Linked DNA regions of Homo sapiens: region 1 is linked to region 2. Evidence: promoter capture Hi-C in human tissues and cell types (Jung and others, 2019). All regions are on one chromosome and are shown on one strand. The core of a region is centred on a gene start or on the middle of the fragment in contact, and the rest is flanking DNA. Distances in the headings are between cores, read along the strand shown.

What was found. Contacts are between HindIII fragments. The study calls those that stand out against the background at their distance.
Region 1: a fragment that was not itself captured here is called in contact with the fragment with the promoter of CD9 in region 2 in 5 of the 25 tissues and cell types used here (IMR-90 fibroblasts, heart right atrium, liver and 2 more).

The regions. Positions count from the first base shown.
Region 1 is chr12:6,326,640-6,333,003 of GRCh38, reverse strand. TNFRSF1A (TNF receptor superfamily member 1A) reads left to right here. Exons shown (of 10, transcript NM_001065.4): 6 at 2,078-2,151; 7 at 2,293-2,406; 8 at 2,709-2,737; 9 at 2,938-3,226; 10 at 3,382-4,233. The coding sequence ends at 3,692. PLEKHG6 (pleckstrin homology and RhoGEF domain containing G6) reads right to left here. Exons shown (of 16, transcript NM_001384598.1): 15 at 5,058-5,750; 16 at 4,498-4,868. The coding sequence ends at 4,859. Among named protein-coding and RNA genes, the nearest start is that of TNFRSF1A, 12 kb to the left of the region's middle. RefSeq lists an enhancer at 2,637-2,766. The HindIII fragment of the contact is 7,903 bases long and covers 1-6,231 here.
Region 2 is chr12:6,197,617-6,204,948 of GRCh38, reverse strand. CD9 (CD9 molecule) reads right to left here and starts at 4,549. Exons shown (of 8, transcript NM_001769.4): 1 at 4,384-4,549. The coding sequence starts at 4,449. RefSeq lists enhancers at 2,002-2,613, 2,614-3,226, 4,453-5,064, 5,065-5,677. The HindIII fragment of the contact is 17,720 bases long and covers 1-7,332 here.

The sequences.
Region 1 (6,364 bases), core at 1,031-3,530, 130 kb before region 2:
AACCATTAGCTGGGCAACAGATGCCAGGATGCCCCAGAGTGCTCAGGGTCCTACTGGCTGAGTAGGAGACACTTCGTTAAGACACCAGGCAGTCCTTCCCCTTGCTCTTCAAATCTGAAGAAGTCTTTGAGGATGGAAGATCATGCCCCAAGGGCTGGCAGCCCTTCCAACTCAGATATGTAGATTCTTGGATCTACGATAGCTCATTGGTTCTAGGACATACACTCTTATAGCTCTGAAATCAAACCTCCTATAACTGGTGACTCATCATGGTTGAATTGGCAGCTCTGTTTGCGTCTGGGTAGTAATGTAAAGAAAAGTGCCTTTTATTCTTGATGGCGTCTTAGGTTTGATGCAATATGGTATTTCCTCATTAGTCACTGTCCAGGCCTCCTTACTCCTGGCTCCACAGAGGCTGTTCTTGTCACTCACTTGCAAAGAATAAACTCTGAGGGCTCTCAGAGTTTGAACCCCAGCATAGCCACTTACTGGCTATGTGACGTTGGGCAAGTTTCTTAACATCTCTGAGCCTGACTTTTCTTTTGGTGTTTTTTTTTTTTTTTTTTTTTTGAGACAGGGTTTCACTCTGTCACCCAGGCTGGAGTGCAGTGGTGCAACCGTGGCTCAGCCTCCACCTCCAGGGCTCAAGCCATCCTCTTGCCTTAGCCTCCTGAGTAGCTGGGATTAGAGGCACACACCACTACACCCAGCTAATGTTTTACTTTTTGTAGAGACAGGGTCCTACTATATTGCCCAGGCTGGCCTCGGACTCCTGGGCTCAAGCGATCTTCCGCCTCAGCCTCCCAAAGTGCTAGGATTACGGGCATGAGCCACCACGCCTGGCCTGGGCCTTAGATTTCTTATATTTAAAGTAAGCATAATGACATTCATTTGGTGAATTTGTGAGAACCAAAAACAAAGAAACAAACAAAACCTACAACACGTCTGACACAAAACTATTTATTTTCCATTAATCTTCTTTTTTTTTTTTTTTTTTTTTTTTGACACAGAGTCCTGCTCTGTCGCCCAGGCTGGAATGCAGTGGCGCGATCTCGGCTCACTGCAACCTCTGCCTCCCAGATTCAAGCAATTCTCCTGCTTCAGCCTCCCAAGTAGCTGGGATTACAGGCACGTGCCACCATGCCTGGCTAATTTTTGTATTTTTAGTAGAGATGGGGTTTCACCATCTTGGTCAGGCTGGTCTCAAACTCCTGGTGATCCACCTGCCTCTGCCTCCCAAAGTGCTGGGATTACAGCCGTGAGCCACTGCACCCAGCCGGCTTCATCTCTTCTTGAAATCACTTTTATACCATTCTATGTGGTTCTCACCATGAGCTTGAGTGGTGGGCTAAAGTGCCTCTCCCTGCTTTCAGCTTCCTGCTGGGAACTCACTCTCTCAAGTTCCTTCCAGCACCACCCCATAGAGTTCCCATCACTCCACACTGTCCAGTGACAACTCCCAACATGGAAGATCTGCTAGTTCTACAGGGTGCTCTCTGGCTGCCCCAGTAACATGTGTTTTTAAATTTTTCACATGCATGTTTGACCCCGACTCCCCGAAGTCAGGTACTGTAACTAGCAGTGTCATTTAAGAAAAAGCCCTTTAACCTCTCTTTGCCAAAGGATTCTTATCAGCAAAACAGTGATGAAACAACAATCCCATAACAGCTAGCTGGCTACCTTCTCAAGCACTTATTAAATGAGGCATAATGATTTTGCTTAATCCTCAATCCTGAGAGGTGGGCGATCCCTGTGGTGATGAGGAAACCGAGGCTTGGGGGTTAATGGCTTGCCTAGATTCACACTGCTAGCCAAGGAATGAACTGGAATTTACACCCTGACCCTGACTGCTTTTCACATTTTCTACACAGCCTTTTCAAGATCCCTGCCAATTCTAAAATTAAATGATTCTATGATTAACTGTGTTTCATTCTTCTGCATCAGTTCCCAAAACAAATTATATCAAGAGACAGCAAAAATATTTGTAAAGAAAGGATGTCCAACAATCTGTGTGGTTGTTTTTCTGTGTTCCTCCAATGGTAGGGCCTCTGTTCACCAGTGCCGTCTCTTCTTTTAGCTGTAAGAAAAGCCTGGAGTGCACGAAGTTGTGCCTACCCCAGATTGAGAATGTTAAGGGCACTGAGGACTCAGGTGAGGAGAAGTGACCTGGTGCCCATGCTCACCTGCCCTCTCCCTCTTCTTGCCCCCACCCGTCCATCCATCCCACCCATCCATCTATCCCTGCGGCCCCCCTCTGCCCGCTCCTCTGACCAACACCTGCTTTGTCTGCAGGCACCACAGTGCTGTTGCCCCTGGTCATTTTCTTTGGTCTTTGCCTTTTATCCCTCCTCTTCATTGGTTTAATGTATCGCTACCAACGGTGGAAGTCCAAGCTCTACTCCATTGGTGAGTGGGGGCTTTGGGAGGGAGAGGGAGCTGGTGGGGGTGAGGGAGGACATGGGTGGGTGCGATGGACATGTGTGGAGGGAGGTGAGGAGTGTCCCCTCAGTTCATACCGCTGGGGACTCTGGGCAGAAGGTGGCCCTGGATGGCTGGGGAGATGTCGAGCTGCATCAGTAGCTCTCTCGTCCCTGGGGCCACATAGGCCCTGAGGCATGTCACCACAAGTCCCCACTGCCAGCTGAGTCCAGGGTGCCAGGGCTGAGAGAGGAAGTGAAATTTATGATGCTTTCTTTCTTTTTCCTCAGTTTGTGGGAAATCGACACCTGAAAAAGAGGTGAGATGAAATGAGAGAGTTACTCCCAAATGTCCCTGACCATTCCTTATAATTGCCTAATGCTCAGATCCCCTGGAATCATCCTTCACTTTCCGGGGGCTCGCCTCATTCCCTCTAAGTCCCAACCCCCACGTAGAATAAAGAGGGCCGGGGCTGGTTTTCGCTGCCGCACTAATGCTGCGCCACCTTCTCTCTTTCAGGGGGAGCTTGAAGGAACTACTACTAAGCCCCTGGCCCCAAACCCAAGCTTCAGTCCCACTCCAGGCTTCACCCCCACCCTGGGCTTCAGTCCCGTGCCCAGTTCCACCTTCACCTCCAGCTCCACCTATACCCCCGGTGACTGTCCCAACTTTGCGGCTCCCCGCAGAGAGGTGGCACCACCCTATCAGGGGGCTGACCCCATCCTTGCGACAGCCCTCGCCTCCGACCCCATCCCCAACCCCCTTCAGAAGTGGGAGGACAGCGCCCACAAGCCACAGAGCCTAGACAGTGAGTTTCTCCCGCGGCTGGAGACGAGGAGGCTGGGGGAGGGCCGGGGGAGCGCGGGAGGCGCTCCCAGAGGGGACCACGAGAGGCGGAGGGCGCGGGATGCGGGGCGGGGCCTGGGGTTGCCGCCCGAGGCTCACCGGCCCGCGTCCCCGCAGCTGATGACCCCGCGACGCTGTACGCCGTGGTGGAGAACGTGCCCCCGTTGCGCTGGAAGGAATTCGTGCGGCGCCTAGGGCTGAGCGACCACGAGATCGATCGGCTGGAGCTGCAGAACGGGCGCTGCCTGCGCGAGGCGCAATACAGCATGCTGGCGACCTGGAGGCGGCGCACGCCGCGGCGCGAGGCCACGCTGGAGCTGCTGGGACGCGTGCTCCGCGACATGGACCTGCTGGGCTGCCTGGAGGACATCGAGGAGGCGCTTTGCGGCCCCGCCGCCCTCCCGCCCGCGCCCAGTCTTCTCAGATGAGGCTGCGCCCCTGCGGGCAGCTCTAAGGACCGTCCTGCGAGATCGCCTTCCAACCCCACTTTTTTCTGGAAAGGAGGGGTCCTGCAGGGGCAAGCAGGAGCTAGCAGCCGCCTACTTGGTGCTAACCCCTCGATGTACATAGCTTTTCTCAGCTGCCTGCGCGCCGCCGACAGTCAGCGCTGTGCGCGCGGAGAGAGGTGCGCCGTGGGCTCAAGAGCCTGAGTGGGTGGTTTGCGAGGATGAGGGACGCTATGCCTCATGCCCGTTTTGGGTGTCCTCACCAGCAAGGCTGCTCGGGGGCCCCTGGTTCGTCCCTGAGCCTTTTTCACAGTGCATAAGCAGTTTTTTTTGTTTTTGTTTTGTTTTGTTTTGTTTTTAAATCAATCATGTTACACTAATAGAAACTTGGCACTCCTGTGCCCTCTGCCTGGACAAGCACATAGCAAGCTGAACTGTCCTAAGGCAGGGGCGAGCACGGAACAATGGGGCCTTCAGCTGGAGCTGTGGACTTTTGTACATACACTAAAATTCTGAAGTTAAAGCTCTGCTCTTGGAGACAGTGGTCTGTCGGGATGGGAGGTGGGGGCAGAGGCCCAGATCCTGAGGGGTGAGATGGGAAAAGCCCTGCACTAGGGCCAGGTAGCCCATCACCATCACGCCAAGTGACAGAGGAGTAGCAGGTTCTTGTTCTGAACACCGTCATCTGTTGCCCAAGCTGGAGTGCGCTCACTGCAGCCTCCAACCCTTGGGCTCATGGGGTCCTCCCGCCTCAGCCTCCGGACACAGGCACACCACCACACCTGGGTAATTTTTAAAATTTTTTTTTGTAAAGACAGGGTTTCCCTATATTGCCCAGGCTGGTCTGGAACTCCTGGGCTCAAGGGATCCTCCCACCTCAGCCTCCCAAAGTGCTGGGATTACAGGCAGCCATGCCCAGCCAGGGCAGTCATTTTTATGCACAACTTTCTGTGGGGCTCAGGTGCACCTATGATACATAAATTTACAGTTCTTGATCCCCAAACAGAGCAGGAGGCAGGGTGCCTGGGCCAGGCTTCCTTTGGGAAATGTGGTCCTTGAGGTAGAGTCACAGATGCCGGAGGGTGACCAGCACTACTGGGGAGAGATCTCCTCTGGGAGAGATGCATGCCAAAGGTCCTCTGCATTCCTCATACCTCTCTGAAAAGACAGGAGGGGGTGTTAGGCGACATTCAGTGGCAACGGGTGAGGGTCAGGTGAAGAGTGAGGCGGAGAGCCCTTCCTGCCTCAGCCCCTGTTCCTGCTTTGCCCTCTTTCTATACTACACCCCACCACCATACAGACATCCCCGTCTGCCCCCTCCCAGGCCAGCTTCCCTCCAGCACTTACGATGCGGACAGAGGGGTGTCCAGCTGAATGATGTGGGGCCCCCGCATCCTCTGCAGCTGGGCCCGAGTCAGCTTCCGTGGCCTGCTGTCCCGGGGCTCCTCGGCCCCCTCAATCCTTTGGCTGGCCAGCTCCTCCCGGATCTCTCTGAGCATGTCCTCAGCCCGCATTGGGCGCAGGGATGTGTGGCCAGCTTTCAGGAACAGAGGCCCCTCTTCTTCCTCCTCCCCTGAGGACTCCCAGGGGCTTTCCCCGGCAGAGTCAGCATGGGTTGGGGAGGAGGGAAGCTGGCCCCGAAGCCGGGCCCTGTGGAGTGTTTCCACCACCACATTCCCTCGCTCGGAGGCCCCATCTTCTTCCTCAGACCAGGTTGGTGGGTCTTCCTGGGGAAGACTGCCTCCTTTTAGGATTCCTTCCGGCAGTTCGGGGGCGCTTCGGCGTTGAGGAGCTTGGGGGTCGGGAGGGTGGGGACGCAGAGGGATGTCCCGGAGTTCCAGGGTGGAGAAGGTGAGGCGAGGGTCCCGCCGAAGGGCTCTTTGGCGTAGACGGCTCAGTGGGGAGCGGGACCCCGTGGGGGTGCCTGGGATCAAAGTGCCGTAGCCAGAGTCTGAGGTATCATCTGGCACAAGGGGAGCATCTTCATCTGTGTCTTCTGTCACCACCAGGTGGGGGATAATGGTCGAGAACTCAGGAGTCCTACAGTTAATGGCAAAGAGTCAGATGCGTAGGGGTCAAGTTCAAGTCCAGGGAGTTTCCCTTGATCACTACATCCAGAAATGGCCCCTCCTCCAAACTTATTTTGGTATCATCTTTCCATCGCACTGTGATTGTTTTTCTCATCTGGCTGGCTAGATTTTAAGCTCCTAAGAGAGTACGGGCTGCCTCTATACTGTTTTATCCATAGCATCTGGTCCAGGATCTTGTATCGAGTGGGTAGTCAGGTTTTTGCTGAGTGGTTCCTGAACTTACCTGATATTATCCTCAATGATCGATTCTTCTTTTCTCCTTAAGCTGCTGCCAAGCAGTGGTGCTATCCTAGACGAACCTCACACTCCCCGGGGATTTGGCAGCTCTAATATTCTGCAGATCCACACCTACCTTCACTCTCGAGCTTGCTCCTCTCACAGTGCTCCTGTGTGACTCTAGGCAGGCTAACTCTGTAGGCTGTCTGTGCCCTATCCCCCACCTCCAACCCAACACGGCTGGTACCAACCTTCCGACCCAACACAGCTGGTACCGAGCTTCCCTACCCTGCCCTACGCCTGCGTTCCTCTATCTATTCCCAATTCCACCAAAAATGTGCAGTAATG
Region 2 (7,332 bases), core at 3,300-5,799:
GCAGTAGCAACCCATGAAATGGAGTCAGGGTTTTGATGCACAGGACAAAGTTGGCACTGATACAGGAAGGGGCAGGGAGGCCAGTGTGTGGATTGGGAGGGTCCTCCTGGCCACATCTGCGGTTTAGACTTCCACACTTCTTAGAGAACTGCTCTCACCCTCCCCAGGGCCTCATTCTACTCTCCACTAGTGAATAACAATAGCTACTGTTGGAAGATATGTCTGGTGCAATCTACTATGCTAAGTGCACTACACATACTCCCCATTTAACTCTCACAGCACCATGTGGGGTGGTCACCAGCCCCATCTGGTGATGAGACATGGAACCCAGGACTGGTGCTTTGATCACTAGGCCAAGTACTAAGGTATACGGGCAATGAACACCCCTGAGAGAGACCCCACCCAGGGTGAGGAGAGGGAACTGAGAAGCAACAGCAAAGAAAAGCACCAGCTGGGCTCTTGCTCCAGAGGTAAAGGCCAAGAAAAGCTAAGTTCTGAGGACTCAAGCCTTGGTATCCATCTCCCATTTCCAATTCAGGGCTTGTATTTTGTTTATTATATTATTATTTATAGATTTAGGGGACACGAATGTAGTTTTGTTACACATGGTGAAGTCTGGGCTTTTAATGTGACCATCACCAACATAGTATACATCGTACCCAATATTGGTTCCTATTTTGGGTTGTGTAGGAGAGTTCTATTGTTGTATGTGGTATGTGTAGGGGTGTTGGGTTCATAGACTGAGCTTGAAAGGACCTTTTGAGACCATTTGTTCCAAGCTATTGTTTTACAGATGAGGAAACTGAGGCTTAGAGCACAGAAGTGACCAACCCAAGGTTTCAAAGTGAGTTGAGGACAGAGCTGGGCTCACATCCAGGTCTCTGAATTCCCAGTGTAGGTCTCTGTGTTTCGCACCAGCCTCCCCTAGGTCTAGGGGATATGGTTTCTTGGGAAAGAGACCTCCCAGCCCCACACTGCTGTTTCCATCAGTGAGCGAGGCATGAGAGACAGTAAGCAAAGGGGCTGAGGGAGGTGGGGAGGGGATTGGGCTCTGTCAGTATAGCCAAACCTTTCCCTCTTTTGCCCTAAGGAGTTCCTCCCCTTCTCTGACCAGAAAGAGGGCAGACATGCATGTGTCAGACTGGACTGGCCCTAACCCTGGTTCCCCATTTCAGCTGGAGAAATACTTGTGTGTCTACCACATGGACATCAGCAAGATGTTTTCCCTCTCAACTGTTTTTTGGGGGGTGGGCAGGCGGGCAGGGAGGTCTGAAGGAAATGTAGAAACAATCAAAATAGAGCTAGGAGGGCCGGTTCTGGAGGTGGTGGAAGAACAGACTGATTTGCTGGTTTGGCTGTGGCCATCAGGGAGTGACCCACAGGGATGAGATCAGGCCAGGGAAGAGGCACAGCCCCCCAATAACCATCCTACTCCACTGAGGTTGGCCTCTCTCTGGATGCCTGTTGGACACCCCCTCTCAGCAGCCTCTGTGCAAAGTGCTGCTGGGCACTGGCCTCACAATTCCTGCTTTTCAAGGCCCACATCAGGTTCCGAATGCCAAGTTTATAAATGTCTGGTCTCAAGAGAGAAACGGACGTGGTGACAACATAATCACCCAAGCAGTTCCCTTAGGTTACACCTTTCCTTAAGGGAGTCTTGGGAGCTTCTTCCCACCCTTCTCCCATTCCCACTCAGCAGCCAAAACCAGTTGGGTAAAGTAACCTAGTTCTGAGACCACCCTGCCGCATCACCTTGGATAAGTCACCTAACCTCTCTGGGAAATGGTTTCCTGATCATCAGTACAGTGGGGACAATGCTTCCTGCTCTTGGCTACATCATGGGACTAGAACAAGAAAGGCTCTAAAGACTAACACTCTGCACAAGTGGACCGACCACAGTCTTCCTTTTCATTACATCATCTCCTAGGGATGAGGGCTTCATCTCCACAGGGACCCAGATACAGGACAAATGAACAGTAATTCAGGAAAACATAGCTACTGCCCATCTTCCTGCCTCTGATGAAGATGGAAGAGGACAGAAGTAAAGTAGGGGCCCCAGGAATTGTAATACTGGCTCTGTCTCTGCGATCCTGGGTAAATCACCCCATCTCTCTTCCTCTGCTGCCTCACTATGAATAAGAGAGCTGGACTGCATGATCTTCAAAAGTCATTCCAAACATTTCCAGTGTGAGTGATTTCTGTTTCAGACTACATAGGTCATCAGCTGCACCTAGGCTGGGGCCAGGCATAGGGGGTTCTGAATACGAGTGGGGTGGCAGGCTGAGGACAGTACGGACAGATTGCAGGCCAGCAGGCCACAGACAGAGTAGATACCAGTGGCCCTGTGAGCCTCGCATCAGCTTCCTGCATATGCCATGGGGCAGATGGGGGTAGGGAGGCACACTGTGGCAGTCTGTGTTTCCCTGCAGTCCCAAACCTGGATGCAGTCTAGGCAGACAGCTGAGGACTAACCAACACACCAGCCGGGAGAGACTGTACCTGGGAGGGGAGAGGAAAACTCCCAAAGTTCAAGGGTGGGTGAGGCCAGCTGCCTTCCCGCATACTTTTCTGCTGCCAGGGATTGGTGAAAGAAAGAAGCTAAGCGTGGCAGCTGGGTGGTTGCTGGGGTGGGTGGCAACACAGGAGGAGGGGTGCCCACGGCCAGCAGGGTCTTTTTAAAGCAAGTCAAGGGTTGGGAAGGAGCACACCTATATGCCGTCCTCACTGGGGTGTGTGTTATGGTGACTGATGCACTGGGGGAAGTCAGTCTCTGCAAATTGGAAAAACTGTTCAACCACCCCTTCAGCTCTGGGGAGGAGTGAATCTTAGAAGATTTCCCTAAGGAGGCTTGTGGGGACCTCAGTGACCAGCTCCAGGGGGAATAAGTGCATTTGTTTCTTTTCTACTTTTTTTGAGACAGGGCTCACTAGGTCACCCAGGCTAAGTGCAGTGGTGCAATCATGACTCACCGCAGCCTTGACCTCCCAGGCTCATGCCATCCTCTCATCTCAGCCTCCTGAGTAGCTGCGATCACAGGTGCATGCCAACACGCCCAGCTAATTTTTTATTTTTTTGTGGAGATGGGGGTCTCACTATGTTACCCAGGCTGGTCTTGAACCTGGATGAAAGCGATCCTCCTGCCTCAGCCTCCCAAAGTGCTGGGATTACAGGCATGAGCCACTGTGCCTGGCCAAGTGCACTTTTTTGTTACAAGACTCTGGTGGCATGCACCTGTTTCTACATCCATCTATCTTGAGAGTGGCATAGAGACTCTCTTCCTGCCTGCAGAGCGGCAAGTATTGTCATGTGTGTGCAGGGAATGTGGCTATAGAAACAAGGACACAAGGGTTTCCTATTCCTTGCTTCTGTCGCCTCTCAGCCTTCCCATTTGTAGAGGCTGAGTGGCCTGCAGCAGGTGTCTCTGGAGCTCCTGGCCCCGCTGGCCTCTCCAGATGAACGTCCGCTCTGCGCCCTGCCTGGCCTTGGGTGGGCCGCCTGGGCTGGCGGGGAGGGGAGAGGGCAAGGCCAAGGCTCTCCTGGGCGGGCAGCTGGCTGGCACCTGATCTCTCCCGGAAATGCACACACAGGACTCATCCCACTAGAGGCGCAGATAGGTATCTGCCCCCTCCTCTCCCGAACTCTGAGTTCTCTCCAGTGAAGATACTTATCGTCCTTGAAAGAAATCAAGACAAGCTAGTCTTTCAGGGAGCTACCAGGGAGTTCGGCGCTCTCACGGTGGCTCAGAATCAAAGTCTGAGGGAACGGGGGCCTGCGAGGTTCCTCCTCAAGGGTGGAGGGGCCCCCGACTCTCAGGGACTGGGTCCCGGGGCCGGACCCGCGGCCGAGGCACCCCTGCCGCTCCTGCGTAAAAGTGAGAGCCGCTCTTGGCTGAGCTCTCGCCGTGCCCGCACCCTCCCTTCCTGGCGCCCCCTACTACCTGGGAGACCCCACCCGGTCACAAGCCATACTGCTCACCACAGTCCTCCTTGGCCTTGGCCCAAAGAGGGGTGCTCCGCTTCTCCCTGCCTTCCTCTCTGGCACTCGGAGGGACTTGAGCTGGGAGCAGACACACACCCCAGCTCAAATCCTAGGCGAGCTAAAGTGCTCAGGACCCTCCCGCACGCCTCATCTCAAGAGGGCCCGGCTCCCCACGCCGGCTGGGCGGTGATGAGCCCCCACCCGAATGCGCCCGTCGCGGCCGTCCCGCCCGGCTCTGGACCCGGCCTTGGAGCCAGCTGGCAGCCGCAGGGCGCTCTCTCTTCCCGCCCGGTGCCTGCCCGGTGCGGGCAGTGCCAGCTGCCGGCACTCGCGGCCGCGGCCAGTGTCCGGGGCCCGCGAACAGGTGGGCCCTGAGAGGAGCGCGCGGCAGTCGCGCTCACTCACCCAGAAGATGAAGTTAAATCCGAACAGCAGGTATTTGATGCACTTGGTGCCTCCTTTGACCGGCATGGTGAGGGCTAACTTAGCCTGGGCCGAACGGGTGCGGGACTGGGGGGCGCGCGCAGCTGGGACTGGCGGGACCTGGCGCTGGATACAGATGCAGGCGGCTGTAGGCTGGTCTCCGGCTGCACTTTTAAAAAGTGCCACTCCTTAGGGCGCGCGACCCGCTGCGGTGCGCATGTGCCGGGAAAAGCCGCCCCCACTCCCCCCGCCGGCCACGCCTCCCGCCCCACCGGCCCCGCCCGGGCCGCACCCCCCCCGCCCCCCGCCCCCGCCCAGGTCGGCGAGCCCCGGCCCCAGCTGCCCCGCGGAGCCCGACCCTCTCCCTGTTTCCCCGCCTAGTCGCCCTAACCCCCACCCGCCACCCACTCCTTCTTCAAGCCGTCTTGGGGTCTTTGCAGGCAGCCACTCCCTGCCACTTTTACCGCGGACTTACGTGGAGGCCTCGCCCTTCCGGTTCCCCCGCGTTTGGTCTGGGCGCCGGACCGGGCGTTCTGCTTTGGGAGACTCTTCCCCGGGTCGTCAGGGCTAAAGGCCCCTTGGCCAAGGCCTGCTGCCAGAGTGAGGGGCCCTTCTGCTTTGCGAGGATTTAAAGGGAAGCCGCCTGGCTTAATTTCGCCCTCGTCTGTCTCCTTGCAAACCTTCGCTCGCTGACCATACTTTTCATTGGGCACAGCATGTGGGGTAGGAGGAATTAGAAGCGCGCAGTCTGGGTGGGATGACAGATGGGAGGCTTTTGGAAGTAATTAGCAAATACCTATCACCGAATAATAACACAGCTGAGGGCTGGGCAGTCCCCAAGCGCTTCCTGCACTTGAGGTTTAGTTGCCCCAGAGGGAAAAAGGGTCTGTAGACGGCTTCTGTTTTCTCTCTACTCCTCCACCCCACCCTCCCTCCTGCGTCTTTGGACTTGCTCGCTGCTGCCTTGAACTGCTCCAGATGCCGAGCTCGGAGCGCTTCTCCTGAGCTCACAAACTTTCTGTAGCTCTCCAGATTCAAGGACCTAAGTCGAAATTCCTCGTCTTGCCCTCAAGGCCCTGTACAGAGCACTGATCTGACTTCTCCCGGACCCAGAGCCCACCCCACTCGCTGGCCGGCATGCGCCCTGGCTGGCTGGCCCCCCCCCAACGTCACTTGTAGGAATTCTGTGGGTCTTTAAACACTCCTTTCCTGATTCTCTGGAGTGGACGAGGAGAGTCACCTTCTTTTGAAGTCCCCGAATCCCTTTGTATTATTTTCAAAATGAAGTTTCCTTTACTGTCCTTTATGATTACAAAAGCAAGATACAGTCATTACAGAAACAACCGAAATACCAAGAAGTGAAAGGAACAGACCTCAAAATTCTGCTCACCAGAAACAGCCACTGTTAGCACATTGCTGTTATTTGCCTGTTTATTATCAGTAGACTTGTCTCATTGGTTCAAAAACATTTTTCAGTATCTATTAGGGTATTTCATTAGGGGTAGGAGCTGAAAAACATGGATTAGTCCTTGTTTCTGCTCAGGGACCAGTGTGGGAGGAGACAGGCAGCCAGACAATGGTTTGAGGGTGATAGGTGCAGTTACGGGGAGAGGCTTGGGGGCTAAGAGGCTAAGGAGAGGCCTCTGACCCAGACTGGGAGATGATGCTGCAGAACCACAGGGAAAGTTGCCGCCAAGGGAGAATCCTGGGCAAAGGCTGGGGCAGGGGCTGTCCGGGCTCTGGGCTGGAGCCTGGAGTCACGGGGTAGTTTGTGGGAAGGTGAGAAAGAGCCTTGTGCTCCTGGACTTTGCACTCTGAGCATTAGGGGCCACCGAAAGGTTCAAGCAGGGGAATGGTTGGATCTGCTGTGTTTTCAGAGGTTCTCTGCCTGTGTTTTAGGTAGTTGGGTGGGGGAAGGCCGGAGGGGCAGGTAGGAAGCCCCTTGAGGACCAGGACCATTGTTGGCATCTCCAGTCCTTGGCTCAGTGCTTTACGGGATTGCATGGAACATGGAGATGTTGTATTTGGGGAGACGCAATCAGGTAATATGAGGGGAGCAGTGGTAGATGAAAGTTGAGCTGAGGACCAGGTGCAAATCTGCTAGGAGGCTGTGGAGTAGTTCAGGTGAGAGAAGAATGAATGAAGGCGGGGCAATGGGATAAAGCCTAGAGAAGGCAGGGCAAAACCCCATGAGGTGTCAGGCCGGGAAGGGGAGGGAGAGATCAGAGGCAGAGCAGCAGAAGCTAGTAACAAGTAGGGGCACAGGGCACATCCCCACGTCAATCTGAGTCCGAGAGGCTCCCCAGAGCAGGGGACATTGCAGCAGCTGACTTGACTTGGGAAGGTGGAGTCAGTAGTCAATGCGGAGGAGGGAATTCCAAGAGGGAACTGGATATGCAAAGACACAGAAGCGGGCAGCTGGCTGCACTGGGGAAACAACCGATAGTGGTACATGGGGAGGAAGGAGGACAAGGAAGGAGAGGCAGGGCCTAAACTGAGCCTAATGCCAAGAGGACAAGCAGAGGAATTTTGGTGATGCTTGACTTTACACATCCTAACCAGTGTCCAGGATGATTCCAGCACAGGGGAGGAGTGTGAAGCACCCTGGAGGGTGGGAAGGAGGCCGGAAAACAGTCAGTGTTCCATTGTGCCCTTTTGGGCCTGCGTCCATCTATCTTGGGAGACAGGTCTTAGGAAAAGAAAGATTTTATTGCATCTCCCCCTTCTCCCAAGTTAACAAGTACTGGTGGGAGGAGTTCAGTAAATATTTAAGTTTATAATAGAAATTACTTATTAGGGTAAACGTGAGTGTTGACAGAGGAAATCCACAGGGAGGCCTTAGAACCTGCCTGCCACAGAAGCGCTGCAGAAACGCTGCCTGTTGCTCCTATTCCTATTATTGTTTACACTGAAGAAAGAATTGGGGTCAGC